Linked DNA regions of Homo sapiens: region 2 is linked to region 1. The links are contacts of gene promoters, found by promoter capture Hi-C in human tissues and cell types (Jung and others, 2019). All regions are on one chromosome and are shown on one strand. The core of a region is centred on a gene start or on the middle of the fragment in contact, and the rest is flanking DNA. Distances in the headings are between cores, read along the strand shown. Region 1 has its middle 6.2 kb from the start of ILF3-DT. Region 2 holds the start of ICAM3 (intercellular adhesion molecule 3).

Region 1 (6,174 bases), core at 874-3,373:
TTTGTGTAACTACAGTAGAGTTTTATTTTCAGAGGTGCATAATCATATTCTTGTTTTTCACATAAATTGATAAGTTATTCTGCACCAGGCTTTTTAATTTCATTTCCTGTGCCTCAGATCTGTCTCACAAATAGAGCTGGAAATTGAAGAAAGGTTTGGTAAGATGATTGGGGCATGCACTAAGATAAAATTGGTTAAAATGCCAGGGCATGGTGGAACACACCTGTAGTCCCAGCTACTCAGGAGGCTGAGGTGGGAGGATCATTTGAGCCCAGGAGGTTGAGGCTGCAGTGAACTGAGATTGGGCCACTGCTCTCTAGCCTAGGCAACAGAAGCCCTGTCTCAAAAAAACAAAAACAAAACCAAAAAATTGGTTAAAGCTTTAAATTGTTGAAGGTCACTGTGATAATAACGAATGTTAATAACAAAGCCTAGACTGGCTTTTTTTCGGAACAGGTCAGTTTTAGTGACTTGCTTGAGCTAACAGCACTGCCAAATGGCAGAACGAGGATGGTTACTAGTTTTCTGACTCCCAACTCCAGAGAGCCTAAGGTTACTTAAAACGCTTTTGAAGATCTCATTCCGCTAAGGCGTTTCTTGCCCCAGGGACCCCAAACACAGTAAAGGGCGGATAGGGTCATGATGACAAGCACAGTCTTTGGATCAAACCCAAACCTCCTAGGGTTTGATTTGGAGGAGGACTGATTCGGAGTTAATTCAACATCAAGGGGTTGCTTCAGTACCTGGCATGGAGTTAAAGCTTCAAAAACAGTAATGGTTATGATTGTTACCTCTTGAACGGGTGCCCCATCCAACCAGAACTTCCTGAAAAATGTTGTCTTGGCCAGGCATGCTGGCTCATGCCTGTAATCCTACACTTTGGGAGGCTGAGGCAGGGGGATTGCTTGAGCCCAGAAGTTCAAGACCAGTCTGGGCAACATAGTGAGACCCCATCTCTATGTTTTTTATCTATCTATCTATTTATTTATTTTTGAGATGGAGTCTCGTTCTGTAGTCCCAGCTAGGGTGCAGTGATAACAATCTCAGCTTACTGCAACCTCCAATTCCCGAGTTTAAGCAATTCTGCCTTAGCCTCCCAAGTCACTGGGATTGCAGGCGTACACCACCATGGTCAGCTAATTGTTGTATTTTTAGTAGAGACTGGGTTTTGCCATGTTGGCCAGGCTGGTCTCAAACTCCTGACCTCAAGTTATCCACCCACCTTGGCTTCCCAAAGTGCTGGGATTACAGGCATGAGCTACTGCACCCAGCCCCATCTCTACATTAAAAAAAAAAAAAGTTTTCAAGAATAAAAACAAAAAGAAGGCTGGGGGCAGTGGCTCATACTTGTAATCCTAGCACATTGGGAGGCCGAGATTGGTGGATCACTTGAGGTCAGGAGTTCAAGACCACCCTGGCCAACATGGTGAAACTCTGTCTTTACTAAAAGTACAAAAAGTAGCTGGGCATGATGGCTGGCATCTGTAATTCCAGCTACTCGGGAGGCTGAGGCACGAGAATCGCTTGAACCTGGGAGGTGGAGGTTGCAGTGAGCCGAGATCAAGCCACTACAGTCCAGCCTGGGTGACAGGGAGACTGTGTCTAAAAAAAAAAAGAAAGGGCCAGGTGTGGTGGTTCACCCTCTAATCCTAGCACTTTGGGAGGCCGAGGCGGGTGGATCACTTGAGGTCAGGAGTTCGAGACCAGCCTGGCCAACATGGTGAAACCCCATCTCTCCTTAAAATATAAAAAATTAGCTGGGCGTGGTGGTACGCACCTGTAATCCCAGCTACTCGGGAGGCTGAGGCAGGAGAATCACTTGAACCCAGGAAGCGGAGGTTGCAGTGAGCTGAGATTGCACCATTGCACTCCAGACTGGGGGACAAGAGTGAGACTTCGTCTCAAAAAAAAAAAAAAAGGAAAAAGAAAAAAATTTTTTGAAGTAAAAAGTTTTCAGCCCAACTTTCCAATAAACCCCATCCATCAGGTTCCTAGTCCCTGGTCACCGTAAAGGATGGAAGACACAAGATGCCATCTGCCCTGTCTTGCTGAACTGCTACCCTGACCCGACCTCGCACCTCTGCCCTTGTCCTTCCACCACTCAGTGGTCACAAACCCTGTATACAACACCATTCTCTCCTCCTTGCCTTAGTGACATCATCTGTCATCTGGCTATTCCTTCTCTCTTCCCTCCCTCCCACTCATTGGTTGAAGATTGAGGTCATCCCCCTCTTGTAATCTGTCAGTCTAGACAGGTCCTGTCACTCTCAGTGACTCTGCTGTCCTTACAGCCTCTCTATTCATTGTCTTCCTCATCTTGAAAGATTCCACCCACTCTCCCAATCACACCCAGTTAACTTCCCTCTCGAAAGCTTTTTGTCCTATGCCTGTTCCCTTCTTGCCCCCCCCCAGGGTGGACATGGGTGACCACTCTGGGATGGACACTGTGGGATGACCACAGTTGTTGGGGAACCATTCCTCTCCCTTGATCAAACTGTAGTCTAGATGGCAGGTCCCTGCTGCCTGACTCCCAAACTAGGCCCACACCTTGACTACAATGATTGACTCAATGATTTACAATGAGTAAATGATCATAATCAGGCTGGTCAGAGTCAGTGAGCTCCAGGCCTGAGACTTAGGAGCAAGAAAAGACTTTTCTGGCCCTCTAATCCCAACACTTTGGGAGGCCGAGGTGGGTGGATCAAGAGTTCAAGAGTTCAAGAGCAGCCTGGCCAAGATGGTGAAACTCCATCTCTACTAAAAATACAAAAATTAGCCGGGCATGGTGGCGGGCTCCTGTAATCCCAGCTACTCGGGAGGCTGAGGCAGAGAATTGCTTGAACCCAGGAAGCGGAGGTTGCAGTGAGCCAAGATCATGCCACTGCACTCCAGGCTGGGCGACAGAGCGAGACTCCGTCTCAAAAAAAGAGAAGACTTCTCATCTTAAAGCCAGGAAAATGTAGCTGCGTGCGGTGGCTCATGCCTGTAATCCCAGCACGTTGGGAGGCCAAGGCAGGCGGATCATGAGGTCAGGAGATCGAGACCATCCTGGCTAACATGGTAAAACCCTGTCTCTACGAAAAATACAAAAAAATTAGCCGGGGGTGGTGGCGGGCAGCTGTAGTCCCAGCTACTCAGGAGCTGAGGCAGGAGAATGGCGTGAACCCGGGAGGCGGAGCTTGCAGTGAGCCTAGATCGTGCCACTGCACTCCAGCCTGAGTGACAGAGCAAGACTCCATCTCAAAAAAAAAAAAAAAAAAAAAAAAAGGCCAGGAAAATGTATGATGTGTGTATTACTAGGTTTCTCCGAGAAAGCTAATAGGAGGTAGGTAGATGAGAGGGGATTTAGCAGAATAATTGGCTCATGTGATCATGGAGGCTGAGATGTCCTACCACATGCATTGACTGCAGACCCTGAAAAGCCAGCAGCTCCAGTAGCTGAAGACCCTGCAAAGCCAGTAGCGAGGCTCAGTCTGAATCCTAAAGCTTCAGAGCCAGGGACACCAATGGTGTAATTCCCAGTCCAAGGCCGAAGGCCTGAGAACCAGGGATCACTGGTATAAGTCTTGGAGTGTCAAGACAGGAGGAGAAGAGTGTCCCAGTTCTGAGGAGGAAAATGCTTTCTCTCCTTTTTCTGTTCTGTCGGAGCCCCAGCAAGTTGGATGGCGCTCACCCAGAAATAATGCTTTATCAGACGTGTTGCTCTGTCGCTCAGGCTGGAGCACAGTAGTGTGATCTCAGCTCACTGCACCCTCCACCCCCTGAGCTAAAGTGACCTTCTCACTTCATCCTACTGAGTAGCTGGGACAACATGTGCATGACCACCACACCCTGCTAATTTTCATAGTTTTTGTTGAGACAAGCTTTCCACATGTTGCCCAGGCTGGTCTCGAATTCAAGCTCAAGCGATCTGCCCACCTCGGCCTCCCAAAGTGCTGATTGCAGGCGTGAGCCACGGAGCCCAGCCACTGTTTTTTTTTTTTTCTTTGTCTTATTTTTACCACATCACAGCTCAAATCTGAGTATTTTCTAATCCAGCCAAGTTCACACCTAAAATTAACTATCACAGCACAGTGTGGTTGGAGGCAGGGAATATACCCAGATAAAGGAACTTGGCAGAGAGTGAAGCCAACCCAGAAGTGGAGCCAAAGCATGAAGCCAGAAAACACTATGGTGGTTCCTCAAAAAATTAAACATAAACCAGGCACAGTGGCGAGTGCCTGTCATCCCAGCTACTTGGGAGGCTGAGGCGGGATGATCCCTTCAGTCCGGGAGCTCAAGGCCAGCCCAGGTAACATAGTGAGACCCAGTGGCTTAATAAATAAGAAAGAGATGGAGATGGCAAATTTTATGCTATATGTATCGTACCACAAATCTTTTTCTTTCTTTCTTTTTTTTTCTGAGACAGAGTTTTGCTCTGTTGCCCAGGCTGGAGTGCAATGGTGTCATCTTGGTTCACCACAACCTCTGCCTCCTGGGTTCAAGCGATTCTCCTGCCTCAGCCTCCCGAGTAGCTGGGATTACAGGCATGTGCCACCATGCCTGGCTAATTTTTGTATTTTTAGTAGCAGCAGGTTTTCACCATGTTGGCCAGGCTGGTCTCAAACTCCTGACCTCATGATTCACCCGCCTCAGCCTCCCAAAGTGCTGGGATTACAGGCATGAGCCACCGCACCCGGCCGCCAGGAGCTATTTTTTAGGTGGGCATGGTAACAGGAGCTGGGGCTGAATAAAATGCCAGATTCAAAGGATCCAGGGAAACAAAGGCATCGAGGAAGGGGTCAGTGCCAGCATAGGGTAGAACTTGAGGACTCTGGAGCCAAGACCTGGGTTCAAATGCCTTCTTGGAAACAAACAAACAAAAATGCTGGCCAGGCTTGGTGGCTCATGCCTGTAATCCCAGCACTTTGGGAGGCCGAGGCAGGTGGATCACATGAGGTCAGGAGTTTGAGACCAGGCTAGCCAACATGGTGAAACCCCGTCTCTACTAAAACTACAAAAATTAGCTGGATGTGGTGGTACGCGCCTGTAATCCCAGCTACTCAGGAGGCTGAGGCACGAGAATCACTTGAATCCAGGAGGTTTAGTGAGCTGAGACTGTGCCACTGCACTGTGGCACTATGCACTGTGGCCTGGGCCACAAAGGGAGACTCTGTCTCAAAAAACAAACAAACAAACAAAAAAAACCAGCATGGGCAATATGGTAAAAATCAATCTCTACAAAAAATACAAAAATTAGTCAGGTGTGGTGGTGTGTACCTGTAGTCCCAGCTACTCGGGAGGCTAAGATGGGAGGATCACCTGAGGCTGTGGTGAGCCATGATTGCACCACTGCACTTTAGCTTCAGCCAGAGTGAGATCCTGTCTCAAAAAAAAAAAAAAAAAAAAAAGGCTGGGCCAGGTGGCTCACGCCTGTAATCCCAGCACTTTGGGAGGCCGAGGCCAGCGGATCACCTGAAGTGAGGAATTTGAGACCAGCCTGCCCAACATGGCGAAACCTGGTCTCTACTAAAAACACAAAAAATTAGCCAGGCGTGGTGGCAGGCACCTGTAATCCCAACTACTCGGGAGGCTGAGGCAGAAGAATCGCTGGAACCCGGGAGGTGGAGGTTGCAGTGAGCCGAGATCGCACCACTGCCCTCCACCCTGGGTGACAGGGCAAGACTGTCTGAAAAAAAAAAAAAAAAAAAAAAGTGGATATTGAAGAAAAATTCCCTGAGAGGAGGTGGAAAGAATTGAAATGTTGGGGCGGATTGCCTGGAGGTGACTGACACTGGCAGCTGGCACGAGGGGGCAGCAGCGAGCTTCCAGGCAGTGGGGCCCACCCCAAGGGCAGTCAGTCCCTTCGCAGATCCAAAGTAGCTGGGGAGCATAGTGACTGCAGGACCTCAGGTGCCTGGGCCCTGAGAGAGGGGAGGCCTGGGGGCGTGTGTCCAGGATGGGTGATGGCGGAGGTGGACAGGCTGCCTCTGCCTTCTGGAGTCCAGGGATTAGAGCCTAATCGGGAAATCTGAGCTGCCTGAAGGTTGGAATTCAGGCAGAGCCAGCAGCCAGTGGGTTTCCTGCCCCCTCCTCGTTCCCTTTGAGAGAATCGCCCTAGTTCAGAGACTCCTAGGGCCTTGGAAGCTGGGGTTCCCCCTACCAGCCGCCACTGGCTCACTGCCCCCAACAAAC
Region 2 (6,109 bases), core at 1,683-4,182, 310 kb after region 1:
GCCCAGCTAATTTTTGTATTTTTTTTAGTAGAGACGGGGTTTCACCGTGTTAGCCAGGATGGTCTCGATCTCCTGACCTCGTGATCCGCCCGCCTCGGCCTCCCAAAGTGCTGGGATTACAGGCGTGAGCCACTGCACCTGGCCGATTTTTTGTATTTTTAGTAGAGACAGGGTTTTGGCATGCTGCCCAGGCTGGTCTGGAACTCCCGACCTCAAGGGATCCGCCTGTCTAGGCCTCCCAAAGTGTTAAGATTACAGGTGTGAGCCACCACGCCTGGCCCAGAAATACTCTTTTTTTTTTTTTTTGAGATGGAGTCTCACTCTGTTGCCCAGCCTGGATGGAGTGCAGTGGCGCGATCTCGGCTCACTGCAAGCTCCGCCTTCTGGGTTCACGCCATTCTCCTGCCTCAGCCTCCCGAGTAGCTGGGACTACAGGCACCTGCCACCATTTTTTTTTGTATTTTTAGTAGAGACGGGGCTAATTTTTTTTTGTATTTTTAGTAGAGATGGGGTTTCACCGTGTTAACCAGGATGGTCTCGATCTCCTTACCTCGTGATCTGCCCGCCTCAGCCTCCCAAAGTGCTAGGATTACAGGCGTGAGCTACCACACCTGGCCCAGAAATACTTCTTTATCAGAAATATTACTGGCGGGTGTAGCAGGGCACGCCTATAATCCCAGCACTTTGGGAGGTCGAGGCAGGCAGATCCCTTAAGCTTAGGAGTTCAAGACCAACCTGGGCAATATGGTGAAAGCCGTCTCTACAGAAAATTAGCCAGGCACAGTGGTGTGTACCTGTGGTCTCAGCTCCTAGGGAGGCTGAGGTGGGAGGATCACTTGAACCCAGGAGGCTGAGATTGCAGTTAGCTGAGATTGTGCCCCTGCACTCCAGCCTAGGCGACACGGTGAGACTCTGTTTCAAAAAACAAAAAAGAAATATGACTTATTTACAAATATTTCTTTCTTTTTTATTTTTAGAGACAGGGTCTCACTATTACGTAAGTATTATAAATTATATATATATGTTTGTTTGTTTGTTTGTTTTTCTGAGACAGAGTCTTGCTCTGTCACCCAGGCTGGAGTGCAGCGGCACAATCTCCACTCACTGCAACCTCCGCCTCTTGGGTTCAAGTGATTCTCCTGCCTCAGCCTCCTGAGTAACTGGGACTACAGGTGCCCGCCACAATGCCCAGCTAATTTTTTATATTTTTGGTGGAGATGGGGTTTCACTGTGTTAGCCAGGATGGTCTCGATTTCCTGACCTCGTCATCCACCTACCTCAGCCTCCCAAAGTGCTGCTAGGATTACAGACGTGAGCCAGTAAGTCCGACATCTTTTTTTTTTTTTTTTTTTTTTGTGGAAACAGGGTCTCACTGTGTCTCCCAGGCTGGAGTGCAGGGGCACAATCTCGACTCACTGCAGCTTTGACCTCCCAGGCTCAAGCGATCCTCTCACCTCAGCCTTCCAAGGAGCTGGGACTACAGGCACCAGGCCCATGCTACTGGTCCCTGCTGTTTACAAATACACTAGACTTGGGTTTTAGCTGCTCTCTCAACACCAGGTGGGAAATGGATTGTTCGGAAGGTAGAGGAATAGAGGAGGGACCTGCTTAGGAAGGTGGGGGTGCTCTAGATGAGAGAGGAGGTGCTGTGACCTCAAGGTCTGGGGAAAGTGGGTGAGTGCAGGGCCCCATCAAGGCTCTCAACAAGGCCTCTCTCTCTGGAGCTCAGATGTGAAGCCCAGAAGGCAGGTCAGAGGCCTGAGGTCAGAGGCAGGTCAAAGGTGGGGGTCCCACCTGGTCCCCTTGGCGCCTTCCCTTGGAATGCAGTGACCAGCTGCCTGGAAGGGTGGGCAAGGGGACAACAGGATGGGGTAAAGGCCAGTTACAAGTAGAATCCTGGAAGGCCGGGCGCAGTGGCTCACGCCTGTAATCCCAACACTTTGGGAGGCCAAGGCGGGCAGCTCACTTGAGGTCAGAAGTTTGAGACCAGCTTGGCCAACATGGTGAAACCCCGTCTCTACCAAAAAGTACAAAAATTAGCCGGGCGTGGTGGCACATGCCTGTAATCCCAGCTACTCGGGAGGCTGAGGCAGGAAAATCGTTTGAACCCGGGAGGCAGAGGCTGCAGTGAGCCGAGATCCCGCCACTGCACTCCAACCTGGGTGACAGAGTGAGACTCTGTCTCAAAACAAACAAACAAAAACCAAGTAGAATCCTGGATAGACAGTGGCTCAGGGACTCAGCTGTCCCCAAATCACCTACCTTAGCTCTTTGTGCAGGGGATGGGGGATCCCCAAGATCTTCAAAGATAGGGAGGTATCCTCAAGATCTTCAAAGGTGGCCAGGCGTGGTGGCTCACGCCTGTAATCGCAACACTTTGGGAGGTCAAGATGAGAGGAGGCCATCTTAAGGCCAGGAGTTCAAGACCAGTCGGGGCAACATAGCAAGACTCTGCTTCTGTTTCTGTTTTTGTTTTTGTTTTTTAATGTTTCCTCGAAATCCCACCTTAACATCTACACAATGGTGCCTACAGTTTTCCCCATTAACTTCCTCTCTGGGGACAGAATATTCCCCTACCCACCTAAGTTCAGCCAGAAGGAGATGCCTCATCCCCCCCACCCAGGCTTCCCAGTGCTGAGAACAAAAGAAACCAGTTTAGTTAGCATTTCCTGTGAATTCAAATGGGGGCCAGCAGTGCAACTGGGACCAGCCCATTCCCTGGGGGAGACTCAGCAGTGCTGGCCACTTTGCAGAGCCCCGTCTGGGTCCCCCACCCTGGCCCCCAAGGGCCACAGCATCCCCTTCCACCCACAGGCCTGGGCAAGGTGCAGTCCCCAGACTTCTGCAATCTTAACCGCTGTGCTTCCGTCGCAGTGGGAGGCCCCGCCTTTTCCCCTGCCTGCCCTTCGGGCACCTCAGGAAGGCACCTTCCTCTGTCAGAATGGCCACCATGGTACCATCCGTGTTGTGGCCCAGGGCCTGCTGGACTCTGCTGGTCTGCTGTCTGCTGACCCCAGGTGAGACCAGTCAAGCCGGGGAGGGCTGGAGAGGGCTGCGTTTTGGGGATCAGTAGAGGGTAGAGGAATAGAACGCAACGCTGTTCACATCCTGCCACACTGCGACCTGGCCGCTGACTCTGTATCCTCGGGAGAAAGTTCTGGTTCCTTAGTTCAGCCTTCAGGTGGTCAGGCCCCAGCATAGGCTTGTACGCCATCCCTCTCCCCTAACACACACACACACACCCCTCATGCTTCCTGCTCCATCTGAACTCCTGAAATTTGCCCTTTGCGTATGTGCTTCCCTCTGCCAGGATCACCTGTCCCTTTCACTTGCTAACTCCTACTTAGCCTTCAGTTTCGGGCTGCAATGGTCCCCGCTTCCAGGAAGCCTTCCCTGACTCACCTCCTCCTATGCTGGATCAGAGCCTCTTCTGGCCTCCTTCTGAGTTCTCCCCGGTCTCTGATGGATTCTACCTTTCCCACTGGACCATGAAGGCAGGAACCCTTCTGTCTCGGCACAAGGAGAGAGGTGTTAAATGGTGGGGCCTGTTGATGCGTGGGTTGGGGGACAAGGAAACAAACACCAGGACTTCTTCATGTTCCTGAAGGTGTCCAGGGGCAGGAGTTCCTTTTGCGGGTGGAGCCCCAGAACCCTGTGCTCTCTGCTGGAGGGTCCCTGTTTGTGAACTGCAGTACTGATTGTCCCAGCTCTGAGAAAATCGCCTTGGAGACGTCCCTATCAAAGGAGCTGGTGGCCAGTGGCATGGGCTGGGCAGCCTTCAATCTCAGCAACGTGACTGGCAACAGTCGGATCCTCTGCTCAGTGTACTGCAATGGCTCTCAGATAACAGGCTCCTCTAACATCACCGTGTACAGTGAGTCGACGTGTCCGGAGGTGGGACTGGTCTTGGGTAGTGGTGTGGGCAAGTGGCCAATGGCTCAGGAGAGTGGGGACCCTCAGTTTGCAAAGAATGGACCACAGTTCTGACCCAGAGCTCAGACCTGGACATTTGTGTGTGAGATACAAAGATAGACAGAGACAGAGACACAGAGACAGAGACAGAGATATAGAGACGCATCTCAATCTCATGCCAAGGCAGCAGTTGTGAAATCAATTAACTTGGGCCCCAACAAGCATTTTTTTTTTTTTTTTGAGACAGAGTTTCGCTCTTTTTGCCTAGGCTGGAGTGCAGTGGCACGATGTCGGCTCACTGCAACCTTCGCCTCCTGGGTTCAAGTGATTCTCCTGCCTCAGCCTCCCGAGTGGCTGAGATTACACATGCACGCCACCACACCCAGCAAATTTTGTATTTTTAGTTGAGATGGCATTTCACCATGTTGGCCAGTCTGGTCTTGAACTCCTGACCTCAGGCGATCCGCCCACCTCAGCCTCCCAAAGTGCTGGGATTACAGGCATGGGCCACTGCGCCCGGCCCCAACAAGCTTTTTTTTTTTTTTGAGATGGCGTCTCTTACTCTGTAGCCCAGGCTGGAGTGCAGTGGTGCAATCTCGGCTCACTGCGACCTCTGCCTCCCAGGTCCAGCTAATGCCCAGCTAAGTTTTGTATTTTTAGTAGAGACGGGGTGTTCCGCCCACATCAGCCTCTCAAAGTGCTGGGATTACAAGTGTGAGCCACTGCGCCTGGCCCCAACAATAATCCCAACACTTTGGGAGGCCAAGGCAGGAGGATTGCTTGAGTCCGGAAATTTAAGACCAGGCAGAGCAATATAGGGACACCCCGTCTCTACAAAAATAAATAAAAAATATTAGCTGGGCATGGTGGCACATGCCTGAAGTCCCAGCTACTTGGGGGACCAAGGTGGGAGAATCGCTTGAGCCCAGGAGTTCAAGGCTGTAGTGAGCTATAATTGCACCACTGCACTCCAGCCTGTGCAAAAAAGCAAGACCCTTGTCTCTTAAGCAAAAAAGGGGGTACCCCTTTCAGTCAGCAGTAGGCAAATGGAGGTTTTACATTTACACTTTTTTATACCTTTATTTTAGAGACAGGATCTCCCTATGTTGCCTAGGTTGGTCTCAAACTCCTGGGCTCAGGCAATCCTCCCACTTCAGTCTCTCCAGTAGCTGGGATTGCAGGCCTGGCTACTTTTTTTTTTCTTTTCTTTTCTTTTTTTTTTTTTTTGAGACAGAGTCTCACTCTGTCCCCCAGGCTAGAGTGCAGTGGCGCAATCTTGGCTCACTGCAACCTCTGCCTTCCGGGTTCAAGCGATTCTCCTGCCTCAGCCTCCTGAGTAGCTGGGATTACAGGCGCATGCCAACACGCCCAGCTAATTTTTGTATTTTTAGTAGGGACAGGATTTCACCATGTTGCCCAGGCTGGTCTCAAACTCCTGGCCTCAAATGATCTGCCCGCCTTGGCCTCCCAAAGTGCTGGGATTATAAGCGTGAGCCACCATGCCTGGCCTACTTTTTGACTTTTCTTTTCTTTGAGACGCAGTCTTGCTATTGTCCCCCATGCTGGAGTACAATGGCGCGATGTCAGCTCATTGCAACCTCCGCCTCCTGGGTTCAAGTGATTCTCCTGTCTTAGCCTCCTTAGTAGCTGGGATTACAGGCGTGTGACACCATGCCCGGCTAATTTTTGTATTTTTAGTAGAGACAGGGTTTTGCCATATGGGCCAGGTTGGTCTCAAACTCCTGACCTCAAGTGATCCGCCTCCCTCGGCCTCCCAAAGTGGTGGGATTACAGGCATGAGTCACCTTGCCCAGCCTTTTTTTTTTTTTTTTTTTTTTTGACATAGAGTCTCTCTCTGTCGCCAGGCTGGAGTGCAGTGGCACTATCTCAGCTCACTGCAAATTTTGCCTCCTGGGTTCAAGCGATTCTTGTGCCTCAGCCTCCTGAGTAGCTGGGATTACAGGCACGTGCTACCATGCCTGGCTAATTTTTGTATTTTTAGTAGAGATGGGGTTTCACCATGTTGGCAAGGCTGGTCTTGAACTCCTGGTCTCAGGTGATCCGTCCACCTTGGCCTCCCAAAGTGCTGGGATTACAGGCATGAGCCACAGTGCCCGGCCTGAGGCCCAGCGTTTTGTAGGTGTACTGGGGAGGGCACCCAGCCTGGGAGTGTCAAGTCTCCTGTGACTGTGCCGGA

Evidence for each region. The method cuts DNA at HindIII sites, captures the fragments that hold promoters and counts their contacts. A contact is called where the count stands out against the background at its distance.
Region 2: a contact is called between the fragment with the promoter of ICAM3 here and a fragment that was not itself captured in region 1, in 1 of the 25 tissues and cell types used here (dorsolateral prefrontal cortex).

The regions. Positions count from the first base shown.
Region 1 is chr19:10,644,570-10,650,743 of GRCh38, reverse strand. No RefSeq gene overlaps it. Among named protein-coding and RNA genes, the nearest start is that of ILF3-DT, 6.2 kb to the left of the region's middle. The HindIII fragment of the contact is 3,105 bases long and covers 571-3,675 here.
Region 2 is chr19:10,336,447-10,342,555 of GRCh38, reverse strand. ICAM3 (intercellular adhesion molecule 3) reads left to right here and starts at 2,932. Exons shown (of 7, transcript NM_002162.5): 1 at 2,932-3,017; 2 at 3,608-3,874. The coding sequence starts at 2,942. RefSeq lists enhancers at 1,334-2,081, 2,082-2,829, 2,923-2,972, 3,193-3,292, 3,578-4,326. The HindIII fragment of the contact is 6,056 bases long and covers 2,580-6,109 here.